3 separate regions of the Homo sapiens genome follow, and regions 1 and 3 are each linked to region 2. The links are contacts of gene promoters, found by promoter capture Hi-C in human tissues and cell types (Jung and others, 2019). All regions are on one chromosome and are shown on one strand. Each heading gives the region's core, a stretch centred on a gene start or on the middle of the fragment in contact. The rest is flanking DNA. Distances are from core to core; before and after follow the strand shown. Region 1 overlaps NKTR (natural killer cell triggering receptor). Region 2 holds the start of KLHL40 (kelch like family member 40). Region 3 overlaps CCDC13 (coiled-coil domain containing 13).

The links. The method cuts DNA at HindIII sites, captures the fragments that hold promoters and counts their contacts. A contact is called where the count stands out against the background at its distance.
Region 1: a fragment that was not itself captured here is called in contact with the fragment with the promoter of KLHL40 in region 2 in 2 of the 25 tissues and cell types used here (pancreas and spleen).
Region 3: a fragment that was not itself captured here is called in contact with the fragment with the promoter of KLHL40 in region 2 in 1 of the 25 tissues and cell types used here (dorsolateral prefrontal cortex).

Annotation. Positions count from the first base shown.
Region 1 is chr3:42,624,677-42,627,725 of GRCh38, reverse strand. The region is part of intron 6 of NKTR (natural killer cell triggering receptor); the gene reads right to left. The region is part of intron 1 of ZBTB47-AS1 (ZBTB47 and NKTR antisense RNA 1); the gene reads left to right. Among named protein-coding and RNA genes, the nearest start is that of NKTR, 26 kb to the right of the region's middle. The HindIII fragment of the contact is 4,741 bases long and covers 1-3,049 here.
Region 2 is chr3:42,683,874-42,686,786 of GRCh38, reverse strand. It overlaps KLHL40 (kelch like family member 40), which reads right to left and starts at 1,250. Exons shown (of 6, transcript NM_152393.4): 1 at 17-1,250. The coding sequence starts at 1,168. RefSeq lists enhancers at 2,476-2,770, 2,593-2,913. The HindIII fragment of the contact is 17,953 bases long and covers 1-2,913 here.
Region 3 is chr3:42,723,415-42,726,623 of GRCh38, reverse strand. All of the region lies in intron 13 of CCDC13 (coiled-coil domain containing 13), which reads left to right. Among named protein-coding and RNA genes, the nearest start is that of CCDC13-AS1, 7.6 kb to the left of the region's middle. The HindIII fragment of the contact is 3,014 bases long and covers 321-3,209 here.

The DNA of each region.
Region 1 (3,049 bases), core at 342-2,841, 59 kb after region 2:
AAACCTTTCAATATTTATGCATTTCCATTTTTCTCTTGTACTTAAAGACAGTGATTTTTCAGTTTTCCCGACCCCTGAATCTACTTTAAAAAACATGTGTGCAAGGTATTTAAGCCTTATAAATCTTAGAAATTGACAAGTGTCACTGCTACTCCAAAAACAATCTATAGTTTTATACCATTATCAGAGAACCTTTTGCCCTTATACAGAAATGACTAATTCCACACTGAAATGAGAACTAAAACCATACTATAAACTAATAACCCCACTCCCCCACCAGAAGATGTACAGGAACTTGGTGGAAACAAGCCACTGAAGTTAAAATATAGTTCCCAGGATTAACCATGAAAAATAAAATGCACTTGTTTTACATGTACTGCTGCTATACAGATAAAGCAGAAAGTTTTTTTTTTTCTTAAAATGTTTCAATGCACATAACAACAGAATTAAAGAGATAAAGGCAAAGAGAGAGAGAGCCTTAGAGTAATGAGACATTACCTTTGGAGCGCACGGTGTAACACTCTTTCTGTAAATTTTACACAAAAATGGCAAGAAATAAATTGTAATACACTTTTAAGACAAGACTGAATCTATGTTTTAATATCAATATAACTTTGAAATTAATTATTTTCAAGTTTTATGCAGAGCAAGAAAGCTTTTTTAAATGGAGGGCTCTAAATTTTCTTTCATATGGGATATTTACGTAGAGATGAATTATGCTTAAGAAAAGCATCGTGGCTAAGTGGGAATCTATTTAGATCCTTAATATTGTAACATAGAGTGCCAATAATAGCTATTAACATATTACATTTCCTTTCACAAATCCCAGAAATTAGCTAAGACAACATTTTCTCAAAAGAGAATAGTGTATCTTGCATACATACATAAATATAAAAATCTGAATGCCCAGGACCAGTTACTACCAGTTGAAAGCAAAAATTTCATTAGAAAAAAGTGAGTTAAGATCATCCAAAATAAAATTTCAAGGAACTTTTAACTAATTCACATCAAATAATTAAAGAACCTTTCATGCTTCTACATTTGAAACCTTTGTTTGGTGACGTATCACAACAGACTACTTTCAGGAGTTAATGAGCAAATGTTCGGACCCTAGTTACTGTTCAGTGATATTAGATACACATTGAAGTTAAGTCACTGAACATAATAATAAAGCAGCATTAACTACAATTTTAGGGACCTTCTCAGAGAATAAAAAGGCAAGAGAGATGAAAGCGTAAGTGCAGTCAAATCTTAGCCACAATATCTTCTTTTCCTGTCTAATCTCTGATTTTCCCCATTATCAAGATTTTTTTTTGGAGAACACACACTGACCAATTTTTATCTATATTTAAACAAATAAATCTATTACTACTCAGATCAAAATACTATTATACCATGAACAAAATGCTTTATAAGAGTTTTGAATGTAATAAATCTTGAAATATTTAAAAATAAGCTTAAAATTATCATAAAGGCATTGACAACATGAATAAGTCAAAAAAGAACATAATGTTTGAAATAATGTGGAGTTTTCAATGAATGTTGCAAAAAAAAAAAATAAGTGACTGTAGGTGTAAAGTAGTACAGAAGAGGGAAATAAAGATAACTTCTGTCCACTTTAGCTTTTAACATGCAATGCTTTCCCTTCAACTCCTGAAACTATCACACTGTCAGGGAAGAGGCACCAAATTGTACAGAATGACAACACTTGTATAAGGGTAATGGAAACTAACCAAGCCACTTGACAATGCTCTACCCATGTGTTCCAAAAGTCACCAAAATAGAAGTGCTTTCTAAAATTCAGCACTAATGTTAAGATAATACACACCAAACATTACTAGATAAAAAATTTCTTCCACATTGCTAGCACGTAAGTCACATAAACATTAAGTTATTAAGCCTGAATGTTAGGGATGACACTTGATATTCAGAGAATATGGTTTATGGCTAAGTTTCACGAACATCTTTGCTCATGAAAAAATCTGAAATTAACATATGAAGGTATTACCCCAAAAAAAGGAAGGAAAAAGCTAGAGCTTCTCAGGTTATTAACACTTACTAGCATTTCTTCTTACATAAATTTATGAATACGTGGGTAGAAAAAGCATTTCTACCCCGAATCTAGTTTTATTACCCAAAACATCAACACAGCTTTACAAACCCCTTAAAACCAACTACTCCTCAACTCTCCTTGCTCCACTACTTTGTAATAATCAGCACTTCTCTCCCATTCAGGTACTTGCAAGTCAGATTCTTAAATGACATAAAACATATTCTAAAACTTATGCCCCGCCCCCCCATTGCCCTATTTATGACTGTTAAAATGTAGCAAACATGTTTTGTTTAAAGTTCAAAGTTTGACTCTTCTATATTATCTTGTTTTCTTACATTGTTATAATTATTAATGACCACTGACAGTGGCCAGTGACAGGAACTGTTCTTGCAGGGTCTGCAGATCCCTACTCTATGGCTGCGCAGACTCATGTTCTAACAGCAGCTGATGAAGAGACTTCTGTTGCTCTTGATTTAAGATGAGCCCAATACTTCTTTAAGACATTTTTCAGACTAATGAAAACTAGGCAATTATGACTATTTCCATTAGGCAAGACAATGTTTGCACATAAATCATTCCACACATTCAGGAACTTACAACTACCCTACAAAATACCTTCTTCCTTTTACATCCATATTTTTATACCAATGTTTAAGAAAAACGAACTGAAGGTACATAGGAAACTAAAATCAAGGTTTCCTGACAGCTATATTAGTGTCCTATCCCAGAAGTTACTACAAAGCTATAAACTATTTACTCAATCTTTTTCATGACTATTTTATACAACATCTTTGTCTTTTTGATTAATGTATATAAAGACAAAAAAATTACAGCCAGAATTAATAAGCTATCAGTAACAGCAAAAGGGGAAAGAATGTTTCCCCAAATGTCATTTTGTTTTCCAGCAAAATGTTTGATGCTTCTAATCCTTAACTAAAATAAATTCAGAGCAGAGTGGTTAATAAAATTTTGAGCTTAAATAAGCTTAAATTTATA
Region 2 (2,913 bases), core at 1-2,500:
AAGGCTGGTCAGGCACCTGCAGGAAGTATGCGCTCATGGGGTCCTCTTTGTTGTCTTCGTTGTAGAAGAGGCCTCCAGCCACGAAGACCTGGTTCTCCTTGGTAACCAGGCTGACGTGGTTCTTGGGGACCTGGTTGGAGAGGGAAGCACAGTAGCACTCGTTGGCTGCTGGATCGTAGGCCACAGCGCCCTCCTCACTGATCATGAAGATGAGATCCTGCAGGAACATGCCGAAGCGCAGGGTGTCATTGAGGATCCCAGGAAGGATACGTTCGGCCTCCTCATCCTCCTCTGCTTTGGCTTTGCTTGTGCCCTTATCAGCCTCCTTGGCCCCGGCTCCATCCTTCCCCTTCTTTTTCTTCCGCAGCGTGGTGATGCGGCCCTCGTGTGCATCCTTCACCATCTGCACCTTGCGCAGCAACTCGGGCTGGGCACGCACGAGAGGGTGGCGCTCCACGCGGCTTTCCAGAAAGGCGCGCGGCAGCAAGCGGCAGCGCACGCTCTCGAAGACGGTGGGCAGCGCGCGCTGGCGCTCAGCCTGCGCCTCGGCGTCGCCGCTACCCGCCCACCGCATCACCGCCTCGAACACTGCCTCCTCCTTCTCCACGTTAAGGCCGTCGCTGGAGATGATGGCGATGAGCTCGTCGGCCGAGAGTCCGAGGAAGTCAGCGTCGCGCGCCACCAGCGTGAAGTGAGCGCAGATGAAGTCGCGGGCAGCCACGGCGAGACGCGCGCAGTCGAGCAGGAGGCCGAGACGGAAGACGGCCAAGCAGTTGGAGAGGCACAGGCGCTTCTGCAGGAAGGACACGCAGATGGTGAAGATGGAAGGGATCTGGAAGCGGTGTGCCGCGGCGAACAAATCCTGCACGCTCGCCTCATCCAGCGCGATCTCTGATGTGTACAGGTAGTGCAGCACCTGGGCCACCACGTCCGGGGACACCTCCTCCAGGTGCAGCTCGCCCGCGCGCTCCGGCTCGGCTAGAAAGCGCGCCCGGAAGTAGGGGCTGCAGGCGGCCAGCACCAGGCGATGGCACGGGAACTCGCGCTCGCCCGCCCGCACCACACAGTCGAGGAACTTGCCATGGTCCAGCATGTCTTTGAGCCCGTCTTGCAGGAGCGTCTGCTGGTACAACCGCTGCTCCTCCGCCTGCTCCAAGCCCAGCGCCATGGTGGGTGGCCTAGGGTGCGGTGGCGGTGCCAAGGGGGCTCCTCTCTGTACCCCTGCTTTCCTGCTGGGGTTTGCTTAGACTGAGCAGCTGTCTTCGAGGGGCTATATATAGAGGTGGCCGGGTCCCTGTAAGGCGAGCCGCCTGGCCTCCTGCACATGACGCACAGGGGACAGCTGGGCAGAGGCCCCCTCCCAGAGAAAGACTTGACTCAGCCCCGGGGGCTTATGGGACGGGGGTGGGGTGTCTGGGCCCTTCTGAAAGATGAGGGCCTGGCTGCCTCATTTCTAAATGGAGCACGGAGAGGTCTTGACTCTGGATTCTTTGGTCAGGAGATGCCCCTAGGGGAGAAGGTGGCCTAAGCTCTGACCCTCAGTCCAGAGACGGGAAAGCACTGGAGCCTCTCTTCCAGGGTCTCCCTTCCTTCATGCTTTCTGGGAACTTCTGTCCTGGTGCCTCCATCTTCCCCCCCGGAATATGTCTCACTCCAGCTACCCCTGGATACAGGGTGCTTGGGTTTTCTGGTCAGAAGTTGGACATGGTGTTCACTTTTTGGCGGCCCTGTTGCCCTGCCTTTATTTTAAGAGGCAGGGTCTCACTATGTTGTCCAGCCTGGACTTGAACTCCTGGGATCAAGCCATTCTTCTGCCTCAGCCTCCCTCGTAGCTGAGATTACAGACATAAGACACCACCCCCGTTGCCTCACCTTTAAAATGGGAAGAGCTTTTCCTCTTTCTGTCCCTCCTCCTTGCAAGAAAGCAAGAAGGTACCTTAGGTAAACAAGGTTGCCACTTTCCTATGAGGCCTGGGGCAGGGCATGTCGCTCTGTTAAGCCACAGTTTCCCTTCCTACACAATGAGGAGGTGGCAAAGTTAGATGCTAAGGACCTCAGTTCAACTCTGCTGGAAGTTTAGAAGCACCAAGGTACTGTGTCCTGGGAGTACACTATTAGTTTTAACACTTCTAAGGTGTCAGATGTGCTAGCAAATTAATTTCTTAGGATTCTACTATTCTAGGTTTTTAAACCCCCGGGGTTTTAACATTCTAGGGAGTGACATTCTGAATTCTAGTGTTCAAAAAGTAACACTACAAGTTTAATATTTCAGGACTTTAGCTATCTATACTCACTATTCTTGGTGCATATTAGGCCAGACCTGAGACTGCCTGGCCATGGGGCCCCTGCACCTTGTCTATGGTCTGAGGGACCAGGGTTGAAGCCCAGGACAGCCAGTCTTGATGCCTACCTTGTTCTAGACTACTGACACCCCTCCCCACACCCTCCCCACCCCGCCCCACCACCAGACACACACACACACACACACACACACACATCAGCCTCAGTCACCAAGATTAACTTGTTCCCAAAGTGCCAGAGGCTGCAGCTGTGTGTTAAATTTAGCCCCCAGGACATTGGAATGAACTATTATGAGACACACCCCCATCATTCCTCTGAGTCACTTGTTTATAACGTCAGGCGGGGGAGTGGGGGAGGGGGTGGGTATAGGAGAGATGACAGCAGGCTGGGCTAGGACTGAGTCACCTCCCTTTTGTGATCTCAGCAATATCACTCTCTGTCCCTTTTGTTTTTAGACGGAGTTTCGCTCTTGTTGCTCAGGCTGGAGTGCAATGGCGCAATCTCAGCTCACTGCAACCTCCGCCTCCAGGGTTCAAGCAATTCTCCTGCCTAAGCCTTCCTAGTAGCTAGGATTACAGGCGCTGACCACCACTCCCGGCTAATTTTTTTTTT
Region 3 (3,209 bases), core at 578-3,077, 39 kb before region 2:
GTTAGTGTTCTTTTTCAATCCAAGGACTTTATATATTCCCAAGGACTGCTGTCCATATATTGCCTCTTCCTCACTCTCCCTATTCTTTTAATCTAAAATTCCTAGTCCATATATGTTAGACTTATTCTTTCCTCCACATCTCTTTACCCTTACTATTTTGGGCTGAATTCTGGGTGATTTCTTCAAATCAGCTTTCTAGATCACTAAATATCTTCAGTTGTGCTTCATCTACCATGAAACCTATTTTGATAACTGTATTTTTCGGTAAAAGCTCCTGTTCTCAGCCAGGCACAGTGGCTCATGCCTGTAATCCCAGCACTTTGGGAGGCCGAGGTGGGTGAATCACCTGAGGTCAGGAATTCAAGACCACCCTGGCCAACGTGGTGAAACCCCATCTCTACTAAGAATCCAAAAATTAGCCAGGTGTGGTGGCAGGCACCTGTAATCCCAGCAACTTGGGAGGCTGAAGCAGAATTGCTTGAACCTGGGAGGCGGAGGTTGCAGTGAGCCAAGATCACGCCACTCCACTCCAGCCTGGGCAAAAAGAGCAAAACACCCCCGTCTCAAAAACAAAACAACAACAACAAAACCCTCTTGTTCTCTTTCTTATAGCATTTGTTCTTTCATTACAATTTTTGCCTTTCTCCTTTAAATAATTTTGAACTTATTCCCTTTAGAGTTTTCTACCATCTTCATTAATTAGGATCCTAAGTAATGTCTGTCGGCTCTCCCCTTGTAGTAAATTATTTCCTTGTGTGGTTTCAATTTTTGTGATTTTATGAGCTTATCTTCAGTGGGGCTTTTTTCCTTGTAGGAGTTCTTAGGTGATGACCGTGTTTCTGTGGAGGTGTTCTGCATTTGTCTCTGTGAAGCTTTTAGGGTTTCAGTGGTCTCTGATTGGTACTTTATGTGAATTTATTGGCTTAGATTCCCTGAACACATGAATGCTGCCCTTGTGTTTCAGTTTCACATGATTGGTGCTTCCTCCCCTCCTCCCCATTTCCCAAGGCCCTGATAGACTGCAGGCTTCCTTACTACTTTCCTGAACTTGTAGATGGATATTATCTTAGTCCTCTTTTTTTTTTTTTTTGAGACAGGGTCTCACTCTGTCACCCAGGCTGGAGTGCAGTGGTGTGATCACAGCTCACTGCAGCCTCAACTTCCCGGGCTCCAGTGATCCTCCCACCTCAGCCTCTGGAGTAGCTGGGACCACAGGCACATGCCAACATGCCTGGCTAATTTTTATATTTTTATAGACTTACATTAAATGCATCTTTACATTTTTATGGGAGTATATCTGTATCACAAATTCCTAAAAAAGAAATGGCTGAATCAAAGAATATGCACATTTAAAATGTTCACAAATCATGACAAATTGCCTTTTAAAATGAATCAATTTACATTCTTACCAATAATGTGAACTGTTTTCCCCATACCCTCACAGTTACTATGTTTTATTAATCTTTAACATTTTTGCCAAACTAACAAGGAAATGCTAATATCTCCTTGTTTTTATCTGCTTTGCTATGACCAAAAGTGAGGATAAGTATATTTTCCACATAACTTTTATGTTTTTTTCTTTTAACTACCTATTCATGCCATTGCACATGTTTTAGAGTTGTTTATATTTTTATTTGACTTATAAAAGAACACTTTATGTATCATATATATGGTATTATGTATATAATGTGTAATATTATGTATGTTTGTCTTCATGAAGATTTTGTGTCATTATGCTAAATTCATTCTTAGCATTCTTAGGTAGGGGGAAACCTCCTTATCTGAGTATTTTTTACCAGCACCCCCACAGTTACAGTCCCCATGAAAGCAAAATTTTTAATATTAAAACAGTCATCATTTGACTATTTAATATTCTTCACTTCACATTGGCATTGGGTCACTTTGGTCAGACTCTTGAAATACAATGAAAATCAATTATGAAGCAAAAAGGTAAATCTTTCAAAATATTTGGAATTTCATGAGATTGATGAACATGAGTTTGGAGAACTATTAGAATCGCAATCAAATACATTGACAAATTAGGATCTAGCTGAGTTAGGCCTGTTAACAACTGAAGAAAATCAGTGAGACCAGAGATTGGTCAAAAGAGAATAATCAGAATACCAAAGTGTGCAAGAGGTCTTGAAGCTTACGGACATCTGTAGATCCCAGGCAGGAGGAGCAGCCTCAGGTCTGGAGAGGGGGCGAGGACAGAGAAAGAGCTGGTTTTGGTGCATATTTGCAGGAAAAGTTGTAGAGCCTGCTGATAGATTGGAAGCTGAAGATGAGGAAGAAAGAGAAGGCAAGGGTGACCCCCGGGTATCTGGGCTGAGCAACTGCATGAGTGAGGATAATATTTATTGAGATGTGGAAGGCACGTTATAGGGGAGAAGGAGAGAAATCAAGAGTTTGCTTATTCCTAAAATTTTGTGGGAATTCACAATGTGGTTTGCTATTTTATATGATGTTTTGCTGTTGGTTTATTATTTCCCCTATTATAAATGGAGTTAAACAAAATGCATACATTATTGAAATTCATAACAGAAAAGTGAAAGCCCCTCCCCCACAGTTGAGTCAATAGCTGCCACATATTCCTTTTTGTTTTCAGTCAAGTGGCTGAATTATATTAACCTTATATTTATTTGTTTTTAAATTTTTAATTTGTTGTAAATTTTTTAATTAGATCATATAGTATGCATAATCTTCTGCTACTTATTTTACTTAGTATATTGCATTTTCATGTCAGTACGTTTTCCTTTTATGGTTACAGAATATTTTATTGTATAAATCCACTGTTATTTATTTACCATTCTTCTATTGATGGGTTATTAGTTTCTGATTTTAAAATACTTTATTGTGTTGTTTCCTTCTATTCTCATTTTACTTTGAGTTTTTAAAGTCAGGAATAGCTACTGATTTTACCAGTGCTTCTTCAGTATCTATTGGAAGGATTACCTGATTTTTTCCTTTAACCTAATTCCGATGTTGAATCTTACAGCTCTAGTGTTCTTGGAACTATGTTGTGTTACTCTCTTACAATGCCATTGAATTTAATGTTCTTTCTTTTTTCCTCTATTTTTACTGTGGTAGGCAGAATTCTAACATTCCCACCCCCGATATACATGCCTTATAAACTTCTCTTCCCTTGAGCGTGGGCAGAACCTGTGAATATGGTAGGATATTATTGCCACAATTATGTTAACTTACAT